4 separate regions of the Homo sapiens genome follow, and all the other regions are linked to region 1. Evidence: promoter capture Hi-C in human tissues and cell types (Jung and others, 2019). All regions are on one chromosome and are shown on one strand. The core of a region is centred on a gene start or on the middle of the fragment in contact, and the rest is flanking DNA. Distances in the headings are between cores, read along the strand shown. Region 1 holds the start of ZNF814 (zinc finger protein 814). Region 2 holds the start of ZNF550 (zinc finger protein 550). Region 3 holds the start of ZNF773 (zinc finger protein 773). Region 4 holds the start of ZNF530 (zinc finger protein 530).

The links. Contacts are between HindIII fragments. The study calls those that stand out against the background at their distance.
Region 2: the fragment with the promoter of ZNF550 here is called in contact with the fragment with the promoter of ZNF814 in region 1 in 1 of the 25 tissues and cell types used here (spleen).
Region 3: the fragment with the promoter of ZNF773 here is called in contact with the fragment with the promoter of ZNF814 in region 1 in 2 of the 25 tissues and cell types used here (IMR-90 fibroblasts and spleen).
Region 4: a contact is called between the fragment with the promoter of ZNF530 here and the fragment with the promoter of ZNF814 in region 1, in 4 of the 25 tissues and cell types used here (heart left ventricle, small bowel, spleen and 1 more).

The regions. Positions count from the first base shown.
Region 1 is chr19:57,887,405-57,890,717 of GRCh38, forward strand. ZNF814 (zinc finger protein 814) reads right to left here and starts at 1,633. Exons shown (of 3, transcript NM_001144989.2): 1 at 1,363-1,633. The coding sequence starts at 1,398. RefSeq lists enhancers at 1-509, 534-1,077, 1,078-1,620, 1,294-1,343. The HindIII fragment of the contact is 24,676 bases long and covers 1-3,313 here.
Region 2 is chr19:57,557,988-57,561,429 of GRCh38, forward strand. ZNF550 (zinc finger protein 550) reads right to left here and starts at 1,876. Exons shown (of 4, transcript NM_001397372.1): 1 at 1,669-1,876. The coding sequence starts at 1,695. LOC124904781 (a long non-coding RNA gene) reads left to right here and starts at 1,955. Exons shown (of 2, transcript XR_007067357.1): 1 at 1,955-2,131. RefSeq lists enhancers at 918-997, 1,142-2,006, 1,448-1,497, 1,984-3,183, 2,128-2,237. The HindIII fragment of the contact is 8,093 bases long and covers 1-3,442 here.
Region 3 is chr19:57,498,223-57,501,361 of GRCh38, forward strand. ZNF773 (zinc finger protein 773) reads left to right here and starts at 1,716. Exons shown (of 4, transcript NM_198542.3): 1 at 1,716-1,891. The coding sequence starts at 1,859. The HindIII fragment of the contact is 9,164 bases long and covers 1-3,139 here.
Region 4 is chr19:57,598,068-57,601,188 of GRCh38, forward strand. ZNF530 (zinc finger protein 530) reads left to right here and starts at 1,818. Exons shown (of 4, transcript NM_001321981.2): 1 at 1,818-2,067; 2 at 2,661-2,712. RefSeq lists enhancers at 1,866-2,075, 2,166-2,285. The HindIII fragment of the contact is 9,316 bases long and covers 1-3,121 here.

The sequences.
Region 1 (3,313 bases), core at 383-2,882:
AGACCAAGATGCCTTTTGTCTTCCTTGCTCCCTCTAAACTGGTTCCATAACGTTTGCTCCTATATCTTTTTCCTCTTGATGCTAAGCATTATTTTGTTCCTTGTGTTGTAATGCCCAACCTTGTTTTCACTAATCCTGTTTTTAGACTCTCCCTTTTGCTCTCTTAATCACCTAGCCTCGTTTCCACATGAATAGACTCTCGCTTAGCTGAGAAAGCCAGACGAGCTCCACCTGGCCCCCTTGATTTACAAGACATTAAGGACTCCTTACCCACCCCCCTTTCCTCAAGGAGTTAACTTGTGTAAGCAGATTCTCAACATATCAAAGGAGTCCAATTAACTGATAAGGGACTGGGAACAAACCATGTATGAAGTTCCCAGGATTTTGCTCAAAAGATAACACCATAAAGCCTTGAGTTTGTGTCTGGCGTAGTGCCCATATCTAACTCTTATGAAGGATTTAGAGCGCCACACCTGGTACCTTGCCTTTTTGTAACCATTTGTCTTTTAAATTGTTTGTTTCTCTGTAACCATTTATCCTTTTAATTTTTTGCATGTTTTTACTTCTGAAGAGTTGTTGCATTTAAGCTCCCCTCCCCTTCCTAAACCAAAGTATAAAAGTTAATCAAGCCCCTTCCTCGGGGCCGAGAGAATTTTGAGCGTTAGCCGTCTCTTTGGCCGCCAGCTGAATAAAGGACTCTTAATTCGTCTCAAAGTGTGGCGTTTTTCTAACTCGCCCGGGTACAACAGTGTTATGTTTAACCTTTAACATTTACATGTTAAGTATACTATTGTGTATTGTTTGCTATATTGACTGACTTGGGGAGTGTCTTCAGCCTCTGTGCCCATGGCCAACTACCAAGTGAACTGGAATCACAAGAGAATTGCCTCCTTCGAACTCCATTTAGCTCATGGCTTTTGTTGACTCAAATATCACCTGACACTGTGCAAAGACACAAACATGCATGGACCTGATTATCTCTACCCTTACAATGCTCATGACATCCCTCCTTTCTTCGAAAATCTCCATGCCTTCTAGGGTCCTCACGTGAGTTCATAGCCCCCAGCCTGCTTGCTCTTCCAGGAGGAGCTCCGCCTCATAATTTGCTCCCAACAGGCACCTGTGGACCCCAGATTCCATCCTTCTGGCTCAGTTCACTTCCAGGCCTTTGCCCGCGCCAGTCCCTGTACCTGCCGGTCTCCCCACCGCATCCCACGGGTGTCAGAAATGGGGCCCCTCCCGCAAGCGCCTCAGTGTCCCAACGCCGGCGTCCGGGCTGCAGAGCCGTGAACAGGCGCTGCTACCTCGCTGCTTTTGGGTGACGATGAGGTGACCTGAGGACACAGAAGGCCCCACAATTACCTGAGCGGAGAGCCTCAGCGTAGCCGCGGCAGCCATCGAACCACGTGGTTTTAAGCAGAGTCGGGAGGATAGGGCGACCAGCCAGGAGATATGGGCACGACGGTCCGTATCCTGGCCCAGGAGTGGGTCACGCTGGGCGCCGTCACAGAGCTCCAGAGTAGCCTCTGTGCAGCGGAGGACAACTGCTCCCCGACTTCTGGGTTCAGTCACCACAGTGCGGACCTAGCGCTCAGGAGCCTCTCCTACAAATAAATCCAACACCAATCAAAATGGCCGCCACCAGAGGGCGCCGGAAGTCCGGACCCATTGTCACGTGCACACAGGAAACGCCTTTATTCTGAGCCCTCAGAGGTCTTCTACGCTATCATTCGAGGCTGAGTTTTCTGGGTAATGTAGTTCCCTAGGCAACAAGGAGGGTAAAGGGCGCAATTCCCAGAGGCGCTTCTGCAGGAAAAGCCCAGCTTCACCTCGGGAGTATCCTTAAGATGTGCGTCCTGACTGGTATGGTGGCTCCCGCCTGTAATTCCACCAGTTTGGGAGGCCAAGTCACAAGGATCATTTGAGGTCAGGAGTTAGAAATTAGCCTGAGCAACAAAGCAAAATCCTGTCTCTACAAAAAATAAAAAATATTAGCGGAGTGTGGTCGGGCGGGCCTGTGGTCCCAGCTGCCCTAAGGTTGGGGTTAGGGTTAGGGAGCCTGAGGAGGGAGAATCGCTTGAGCTCAGGAGTTCGAAGCTGCTGTAAGCCGAGATCGTACCACTGCATTCCAGCCTGGGCAACAGAACGAGACCTCTTATCTAAAAAATAAAAATAAGGGCCAGGTGCGGGCGGCTCACGCCCGTAATCCCAGCACTTTGGGAGGCCGAGGCAGGTGGAACACCTGAGGTCAGGAGTTCAAGACTGGCCTGGCCAACATGGTGAAACCCCGCCTCTACTAAAAATACAAAAATTAACCCACATGGTGACATGCGCCTGTAATCCCAGCTACTGGGGAGGCCGAGGCAGGAGAATCTCTTGTACATGGGAGTCAGAGGTTGCGGTGAGTGAGATCCTGCCACTGCACTCCAGCCTGGGTGACACAGCAAGACTCCATGTTGGAAAAAAAAATAAAAATAAAAATAAAAAAATAAATAAAAGATTGCAGATCTTTCTCCTAGGCAGAGGATCATCCTGCCTCTCCTTAGAACTCACATTGAGATTTCTTGGGGTTATTGGCTGTAACTGATTACCCTAGTGTATGGAAAAATATTATTTCAGAGTTAGTGTAGATGTTCCCAAAGGCTACAGATCCAAATTCACCTATCATTTCAGATGGTCCTTCAGATGCAAAATTCTTCCACTGGAAGCAAAGATTAATGCAAAGATTAATAACCATTATTGTATTGTTAAAATGAACGTGTAAACACCCAGAGGGTTCATTTTTCCTACTGCCCAGATAAAGCCAATTTATCAGGACAGGGAAATTGCAAAAGAAAAAGAGTTTTATTCACACAGAGTTGGATGAACAGCATACTGGAGTCTTACTAGTATTACTCAAATCAGTCTCCCTGAAAATTGCGAGACTGGGGTTTTTTGTTGTTGTTGTTGTTTATTTGTTTGTTTGTTTTCTGAGACAGAATTTTGCTCCTGTTGCCCAGGCTGAAGTGCAATGTCACGATCTCAGCTCACTGCAACCTCCGCCTCCTGAGACTGGGGTTTTTTAAGGATAATTTGGTAGATAGGGGGCCATGAATTGGGGAATGCTGATTGGTTGGGTTGGAGATGAAATCATAGGGAGTCAAAGTTGTTCTCTTGTGCTGAGTGGGTTCTGGGGGAGAGGGAGGCACAAGACCAGATAAGCCAGTTTACCCATCTGAGTGGTGCCATCAGATCCATCAAGTTCAGGGTCTGAAAAATATCTCCAGCACCAATCTTAGCTTTTGCAATGGTGATACCATCCCTAGGAACAACT
Region 2 (3,442 bases), core at 626-3,125, 330 kb before region 1:
CCCCTGACAGGCCCAGAGGTAAATGTCGTTATCACTTCCATTTCACAGTCAGCAAAGGCTCAGGGAGCTTTAGAAATCAGGCACAGCCTCACATTTAAAAAGCAAAAGCAGCATTTGAGCACCGCTAAAACACCTCACCAAGCTGCCAGAGAGCAGGCAGGTGGGAGTGAGGGGTGCTTTTAGCTACAGCCAGCACTGCCAGGATGGGTGTGGAACTGCAGCCCCGCAGAGACCTGAGAACAATGTCTCAGACAAAGGGAAGTGCAAGGGCAAAGGCTGAAAATGGGAAAGAGCTTGGCAAGCTCAGGATTCCCTGGATGAATGCAGTGAGAAAGGGGACAATGGAAGAGGAGAAAGAAGATGCGGTCAAAAGGGCAAACCAAGTACAGCCTTGCAGACCATGCTGGTAGGAGGGGGTGGATTTATTGGAAATGTGATGAGAGTCCCTATAAGAGAGGCCTATTCAATCATCAACCATTTATTAAGTACAATAAATGTACTTAAGCCTGGCTGTTCTGGGTCTTGGGAGAGGGAAGCAACAGGCACTCACATTCCAGGGTTGGAAAAAGATCCTAAACAGGCAACTAAATAAATGAGTAAGGCAATGTCAGATGGCCTTAAAGATTCAGATGACAAGAAAACAGAGCAAGGAGACCAAAGAGACTCTGGTCAGCTTTAAACGGTGCAACAGACGAGACCTCTTTAAGCAGCGGACACCAGAGGGAGTCAGAAATAAAGCAAAGGAGGGAGAGGTGGATGAGAAATTAACAACTACGACAGGAGCTGACAGTAATCTGGGCTATCATGAAAGTAATCAGAGTGACTGCTAGAGAGTAACCCTGGGCCTCATGTGTTATCTCCAAAGGGACACTACATCCTGCATACCATCGCCACTGAACATTTTAATGGACTCGTTTTTCACCTGTAACTAAATGTCTTAAACAGGAAAATATACTGTTAGTTGCAACCCAGCGTCCCTTGCCCTAAACTGAAAGACAAATTCCTCAGCCTGCCCTACCACCTTTTCTGCCCTGGCATAGCAGCAACCGCAGAAACGCTCCTCCCACCTCTTTCAGCCGCTGCCCTTCGTGTTGTAGAGACAGGAGGCCAAGGAGGCCAGAGGGTCAGACTCCTGCTGGGGTTGAGTCTCCAAACCTAGCACAGGCCCAGGGAGCAGCTCCGGAAACAACATCCTGAGCGACGTCCCCGGACCGTGCTGTGCACTGAGACGGACACACACACATCACCCAGGGAGCCGTTCAAGCTTCCTCAACCCCGGGGGGGGGAAGAGTAAATATTTCTACTTTGCGCGCGCAAAAATGAAGGACGAGGACAGTAACGGGACTTGTTCAAGGTCGCAGGCCCGAGAAAGGACATGGTTGGAAGAGCCACGAGGAGGACTGCGGTCGCTCCTCTCACCTGTGAGGGGTTCCGGGACCCTAAAAGCCCTATTTCATACCACAACGCCGCGCACCCCAGAAACGGGGACGCTCCCCACGCCACCGCGGGCCTGCATTCCGGACCCGGGACCGCGCGACCCCCTTCTAGGCCTCTAAGAAGCAACGGCAGGGACTGCACTGAGGACGACCCTGAAACGCCGTCCTTCCGCTCGTCGGGCCCGGGACACTGAGGCCGGGTGGCCGCGGGGAGCCGAGCCAGTCTGCTCACCTGCGCTGCGTCCTTCGTCTCCGCCATCCGACCGTTGGCAGGACGAGGCCGCGTGGGGCAGCTCCCACGGGCTCAAAACCCTACCCCGGGTCCTACAACGGTGCGGAGGTGAGCCCCAGTCGCCCTACCATCCTTCCCAGCACAGTTCTGAGAGCGCGGACCAACACGCCCCACCACAAACGTCCACGCCAGCGAGGCCGGAAGTCCCGCCCCTGTGTCGCGGTCGCCTGCCACGCCTTTTCCTGCGCCGGCCCACTGCCTTCTAGGTAATGTAGTCTTGTCCCGTAAGAGGCCAGGCTTGGCTCTTTTTCCTTTTTTATTATGCACACCATGTTTCTGTATATCTCAGATGATCTTAGCGGAGCAAGTGTACACACTGGATTGTAAATTTTTAAAACTTCCTATTATTCGGATGCCTCAACGTCCCTACAAGCAGGCTGTGAGCACTCGCCCAGGCACCCAGGTAAACGAGTTTGATAAAGGGGGCCCTGCCACGAGGTTCCCCGCTTGCCTCCTCTGAGTGACCCAGTGACATTCCCATGTACCAGTAAAATCTTACGCCTGGTTACTGCGTCCTCCTCCACCCTGACGCCAGGCACTGTCCCTGGGACTGGCGTGGATCTGGACCCCCGCTTCCCGCGTGGAGCCATTCCCGGGACATGCTCGTGGGGTTCCGTCTGTGGGACGTCTGCCTCCTCTGTGTGGACTGGTGTTGCCCAGGGCTCAGGAAGGTCTCCAGGGGCCGTGAGTCCCCGCCCGCTTCCGGAGTCCAGCTTCGTGACACCATCGTGAGAAAGAATGCAGGGATGAGTCAAAATGAAGCCAAAGGCAAGAAGCTTTTATTGGGAAGAAAAAGTACACATTTTTGAGAAGAGTGTACTTTTCCCAAGAGAAGAGGGAAATGCGGACGTACGAGGGAGAGCGGGTCATGCACAATGGAGTTTGGGTTTCTAATTTTATGGGCTCTTCTAATTAGGGGGTGGGATAATCATGAGGTTTTTCTAGGAAAAGGTGGGAATTTCTTAGAATTGGGGTGCCAACCATTTTTATACTAAATGTGGGCGTGCTTGGATTGGCCTGGCACTGGTGGGTGTGTGATTTAATGTGGCAATGAGTGTATAATTAGGTCTGGGGTAGGAAATGGGTCAAATCTAGCGTCATGGGACAGCCTAGCCCCAATCCTGTTTGTTAAGGTCTCATCAGCCCAGTCTTCTTGTTGGAGTAGCTAATTTTAACAGCTTGATGTTTTCCCCCTTCTCCTGTGACCACACAGCATTCCTATTTTGTGGGTGTTTCTTTAATTAGAGAGTGGAATAATTATTAGGTATTCTGGAAAAGGAGGGAAATTCAGGGACCCACCTGGTTACTGCCCCCTTTCTCTCTTATTTGGCTTTGCCCAGAAGAGTCATGGACATGTCATCCTGACTGGGATTTTGGCCATTCTTTCTCTTATTTTGGGTTTTCTGTTATCCTATGGTTTCTTTGCCTAGTTCTTGTTTTTATTTGTTGTTCGAATTTTTCCATCCTCCTGCAACCACCCAGTGCTATTCCTATATCACTGTGAGTATAAACACCCTTTAACCTTATAGGCTTCTTGAAGTATAATTCCCAAGACCATGTTGCAGTGGTCCTTAAAGAACCAATAAGGCAGAGAGAAACAAACATGTTCCAAATTTTGTTCTCAGGAGTAAACCTTACTCAATTGTTAAAGGCTGTAGCTAGCTCAAAAGAAGTTTCCTTGACTCTGAAAAACAAAACAAGGATCAGCAATGTT
Region 3 (3,139 bases), core at 466-2,965, 390 kb before region 1:
TAAATAACACAGGTTTGAAATGCACAGGTCCAATTATATGTGAATGTTTTTCAATAAATATACTGGAAAAAATTTTTGAATATTTGAGACAATTTCAAAAAACCAGAATTCATTGAAATAGGTATGCCAAGAATGCATAACACAAAATATATGTAGGTTCTATTTTATCATTACAAAACCAGAGCGATATTTTCTTTTCTTTTTTTTTGTTTTTGAGACGGATTCTCTCCCTGTCGCCCAGGCTGGAGTGCAGTGGCATGAACTCCACTCACTGCAAGCTCCACCTCCCGGGTTCATGCCATTCTCCCGTCTCAGCCTCCCGAGTAGCTGGGACTACAGGCACCTGCTACCACACCCGGCTAATTTTTTGTATTTTTTAGTACAGACGGGGTTTCACCGTGTTAGCCAGGATAGTCTCGATCTCCTGACCTTGTGATCCACCCGCCTTGGCCTCCCAAAGTGCTGGGATTACAGGCGTAAGCCACCACCTCCCTACTCTTTCTACCCAATAAATATGAAGGTCTGTGGAAGCTCAGGGCCCTTCCTCACTAGAAGCAAGAAGCCCCCTGACCCCTTCTTTAAAACAGATTTATTTTGCCTTTGTTTTCATTTCTGCATTCGTTCCCCTTCGTTCAGTCCCATAGTAACTGTGACAGGAATATGGAGCAGAAATGGATGAAGGGGAGAAATTGAGGGGGAGTTGGCTTATGGGTTTGCTGCCTGTTGTTGTGCCTTTACACCAATGTTGGGTCCTTGAGGAAGGAAAGAACACAAATGAGAATGGGGTGAAAGAGGAACGTAAATCCTTGGGCTCCCCTACTCTCTCATCACCTACATCCAGAATTCAGAGCCTTTTCTTATTATCATACATCAGGCATTAATATTGGGTGTCCCCTTGCCAAAGGAAATTTAGGAAGGTATACGTGGCTTTGCCCAGTGAAACCTCTTTATGGTGGCCCTGAAGATCCTCTTCAAGTCCTTCAAAAGAAGGAAAGATTGGAGTATCAGCTGCAGGAAACTGAAATCCAGGCCCATCTCCAATTACAACAGGTTCCAGATGAGTCCGAGAGTTCTCGACACTCATTTCTCCTCCATCTCCTACTCCATCATCTCCATCTCCATCTTCTCCATCATCTCCATCTTCATCATCATCTCCATCTCCATCATCTCCATGTCCATCATCATCTCTATCTCCATCATCTCCATCTCCATCATCTCCATCTCCATCATCATCTCTATCTCCATCATCATCTCTATCTCCATCATCTCCATCTCCATCATCTCCATCATCTCCATCTCCATCTCCTACTCCATCATCTCCATCTCCATCTTCTCCATCATCTCCATCTTCTCCATCATCTCCATCTTCTCCATCATCTCCATCTTCATCATCTCCATTTCCATCATCTCCATCTCCATCATCATCTCTATCTCCATCATCTCCATCTCCATCATCTCCATCATCTCCATCTCCATCTCCATCTCCATCATCTACCGTCTCCAATCTCCATCTCCGAAGTTATGCCCACTTCCTCGAAGTTTGGAGCCACGCGAACTACACTGCCCAGAAGGCGCCGCGCCGTGAGCCGCGATGCTTGGCCAATGAAAAGAGGTCTACCCGAGAGTGCGACGCGCAATGGGCGGGACTTCCGGCGTCTCCCCTCGGCGGTTGCTTTCGCTGCCCTCAAGAGAACTCAGCTTGCCGGAAGCTGGTTGTTCGCTGCGGCGACCAGCTCCGGAAAGCGCGGTGGGGACGCGCTGTGTTCTCGCAGCTCAGAGGCGGGTCTGAGGCTCGGTGGCGGCGCCCAGGGTGGCCCGGGCCCTTTCCTCGGTCGTTGTCTCACCGCCACAGGCTCCGATGGCGGCGGCCACGCTGAGGGACCCCGCTCAGGTGAGCGCCGCGTCCTCCCGGCCTCCCCCGAATCCTAAAGCCCTGTGAGGGCCGCCTGCTCAGGTCCCCGGGTGCAGAACTGTGGGGCGTTCGTGGGCGGCGTCCCGTTTCTGACACGCAGTGTGATGGGGTGGCAATGGAGGGCAAGGGGCCCGGCTCGCAAAGATGTGAGGCGCATTCAGCGAGTCCCGAACCTGAGGCCTCCTGGTGTCTGTAGTGGGCAGCTTGGGAAGGGACGAGGCGCGTGTCGAGCGACAGCCCGAGCAGCTGCGCTTTCATCCTGAGGGGGCCACAGTGGCCGCGGAGGGCTGGAGACAGAAGAGTGACAAGATCTGTTTCTCAAAGTTTGCCAAAGGCCCTTCAAGTCAAAACAGACTGGGGTGGGGGTGAGGCGGGTGAAGACAGACCTGTGAGTAGGTAAATTCAGTAGACTAGTGGAGAGTCTACTGGGACTGGGCCACAGAGGAGGGGAAGTGATCAGATCTTGGATGGATTTCAAAAACTGAACAGACGGGAATTCCTGTTGCATCAGATGTGACTGTGAAAGAAAGTAGGGAATGAAGAGCCATTCTGGATTTTTATTTGTATTTTTGTTTGTTCCTGAATATCAGGAAGGATGGAGATGGGTAAGGCTGTGCAGGGAATAGGTTTTGGGCATGGTGATCCTGAGATGTCCCAGAGTGGAGGTGTCATGTCCACATGAGCAGCTGGAAGGCCTGGGGCTCGTATTTAGGAGGGAGAATCTTAAAGTTTTCTTTCAGATGGTCCCTGAGGTGAGGGAAGGGAGAGATGGGCCTGTAGGATGGGGCAGCCTCTACAGCCTGGAGTTTCGTGGTCCGAAGTGATTTTGTCTGGTGCCTGCAGGAATGGAGGGTTATAGAGTATGAACACCCAGGACTGGATGGAGACCGCAGTGTTGGGTAGTATATAGGTTTGCCACTCCAGGCTTAGTAGTTCCTCATGTCCAGTCCATATGGAGAAAAGGAAAGGTCAGCCAGGCTGGTGGAGCAGCACCTTTGGTGCCTAAGTTTCCCTAGCTATCAGCACAGGTGGGATGATCAACTGCTCCAGTAGAAGGGAGGGCTCTCAGCAGGATGGTCTTCAGGGGAGTATATAGCAGGCAGCCAGATTGCCAAAAGGAAACCCACATTGTCTTTCTTTTTCTTTCTTTTTTTTTTTTTTTTGAGACAGAATTCTGCTCTTGTGATCTGCCCACCTCGGCCTCCCAAAGTGTTGGGATTACAGGCT
Region 4 (3,121 bases), core at 568-3,067, 290 kb before region 1:
TCTATGTTCAGTTCAATTAATTATGTTCAATATTCTTTTTTTTTTTCTCTCTACTGAGATGGAGTCTCACTCTGTCACCAGGCAGGAGTGCAGTGGTGTGATCTCGGCTCACTGCAACCTCCACCTCCTGGGTTCAAGCGCTTCTCCTGCCTCAGCCTCCCAAGTAGCTGGGACTACAGGCGCACGCCACCACACCCAGCTAATTTTTGTATTTTTAGTAGAGACAGGGCTTCACCATGTTGGCCAGGCTGGTCTTGATCTCTTGACCTCATGAGCCACCTGCCTTGGCCTCCTAAAGTGCTGGGATTACAGGCATGAGCCACCGCGCTTGGCCTAGCCACAAGATTATTAATAGTTGTGACGTATAATGTTTTGTGTCGACTTGCCTGCATTAAGGGCTACCCAAATAGTTGGGAAAACCTTAGTACAGGATATGTCTGTGAGAATGTTTATGGAAGATATTAGCAGTTGAGTCTGTAGACAATGTAAAGGAGATCTGGCCTCATCAGTGTTAGGGGCCAACATCCAATGCTTTGAGAGCCAAGATAGAACAAAAAGGCAGAGAAAGAGCAAGTTACTCTCTTCTTGCCCTGGATCATCCACCTTCTGTTTTCCAACATTAAAGTTCTTGGATCTTGGGCCTTTGGACTCTGGAACATACAAGAATGACCCTCACCCAGTTCTCAGGCCTTCAGCCTCCAACTGGGAATTTCACCATAGGCTCCCTTGGTTTTCAGGCCTTCAGATGCAGACTGAATGATACCACCCACCTTCGTGTCTTACCAGGTTGCAAAAGGTATATCCTGGGACTTCTTAGCCTCCATAACTGGATGAGCCAAGTCCCATAATAAATCCCCTCTTGTACATCTATGTATCCTATTGGTTCTGTGTTTCTCTGGAGAATCCTGACTAATACAATAGGTTTCAGTAATTTTCATTTCACAACTGTTTTTCTAAGATGATCTCAACTCCCCATGCAAGCACTGTCCCTGCAGTAACAGTATCAATGATCAAAATTTCCCATCAAAGAGATGAAAGCTAGGTGTCCCAAACCTTTATTCTGGTATTCTGATGTCCCCTTTGCACAAGTGCTCTGACTGTGAACACTACAGACACTGTTCTACTTTAAAATGGCATATGCTAAGTGGCTCTTCTGTTTAGAAAGTTGCTACAATCCTAAAAGAAGCATATCTAAGAATATGGAGGAAGAAATATTATATGAATACAACACTGTTCCTTACAGGGCTAGACACACTCACCGATTACACAGGCAGGAGAGGCATTTTCTGTGAGACAAAATTCCTCTTTCGTCCTCCAGCTTCGGTGCGATCTAACGGATGTTTTATCATTCCTGTCATGGCGCTATGTAAACTCTATTTCCCTTATTCCTTACTGAGCATAATGAAACTCACAAAGCTGACTCTAACGTTCTACTTTACATAAATGTGTGGAGAAAGAAGGTAATGTTTACTAGGCTCTCGCCAAGGGTAGAGGCATTTTGTATCTGAATAACTCTGACTACCTAGGTGACTAGTTGTACACAATACCCTCCAAAAATCTCTGTATGGTACCTTAAAAAAGCAGCGAAGCTCCTCCCTTGTCCAAGGAGGCTGGAGACACCACCTCTCAGCCTTCCCCTCCACCTTTCTCCATAGCAACGGGGTCATTCCTCCCTGAGGTCCAGGAGAAGGGCGACCTCTGCCAGCCCAAGAAGCGGTGAGAACTACATTACCCAGAGGCCCGTGAGCCAGGTTCTTGGCGTGGAGCCAATGAGGCTCAGGGGAGGGACATTTCCGCTCTGTCCAACTTGTCGGAGCGGAACTTCCGGCGTCCTCCCTGTGGCGGGCACTTTGGCTTGTGTCAGTTCCATCCGCGGGTGCCGGATCTGGACCTAGGTGCTGACAGCGAGAAGGCGCGAGGAGAGTCGTTTTCTCAGCTGCACAGCCGGGGCCTGACGGTCGCCGGCGGTGGTGACAGCTTTGCTCTTGTCTCCGCCCGGATCGTCCACCGCTCCCGGCCCGCTCCGCCCAGAGTCCGATGGCGGCGGCACTGAGGGCCCCGACCCAGGTGAGCGCTGCGTCCTCCCGGCCTCCTCTGCCCTCCCCACCCGAAACTGAGGGACGCGTGAAGGGTTTTCTGCAGCCCGGACCGCACTGTCCGGCACAGTGAGGCGCTGGTGCTGGATCTCGTTTCTGGTAGTGTGGCAGGGAGCGGGAGAGCGACACGGTCAGGGGGCTGCGCGGGCAACAGCTTGGAGCTGCGCCTGAGCCGGGAGGCTGGGGAGACCCAGGCCGGCCTCACGCGTGCAGGTAGCAGAGGGTGGGGCAGCGCCGCGCTGCATTGGCCCCACTGAGTTTCACCAGCACACTGAGGGCCACAGCGCGTAGGACAGAAGAGGGGCACGGCCCCAGTCACGCTTCTAAAAGTTTCACAAAAGCTGTTCAGAGGAACGCGCTGGAAGGGCAGTGATGATAGCAGGCATGGAGGGACCTAGTCTTTTTACGAGGTCACAAAGCTGGTAAAAGTCAGCACCAAGGACTGACACCCAGATACAAAGCAGTCATCCCTGGACACCTGGCTCTGGTGTTCCACATTGGAACCAGAAGTCCATGGAGCCACACTTTGGTCACCTGCCTCTCAGAACATGTTTCCTCCCACAGATTGCCACTAGTACTTACAGGTCCGTAAGAAGCACTTGAAGACCCTACAAGGGTAAGTGGAGGAAATCCAGAAGCTCATTGATTCCAGCAATGGGATCTCTAGGATTGGGACTGTGGTGACCTGGGATTCTTTACTTACCGCTTTTCCAGGCCTTGAGCCTAGGGACTCTGAACAAAAATATGTCCAGGGTGAGTATTATATGAGGTGGTGCCTGTTGCTGGCAAATAATAGGATGAATGTGGAAGTTTGTCCCAGAGATAAGTACAGGTGTTTGGAGCTGCTTGGAGGTGAGGCTGAGCTGGTTAAGAGAACCTCAAGTCTCATTTCCTTCTCATGGGAACAGAGAGCAGAGGTACAGGAGTTAGAAACTAAATGGCTGTCTCAGATGTCTTTGTTCTGGAGATGATGGCAGCAATGAAGATTTGGAGCAGAAGAGGGAGGTGATCTTCCCCAGGCCTCA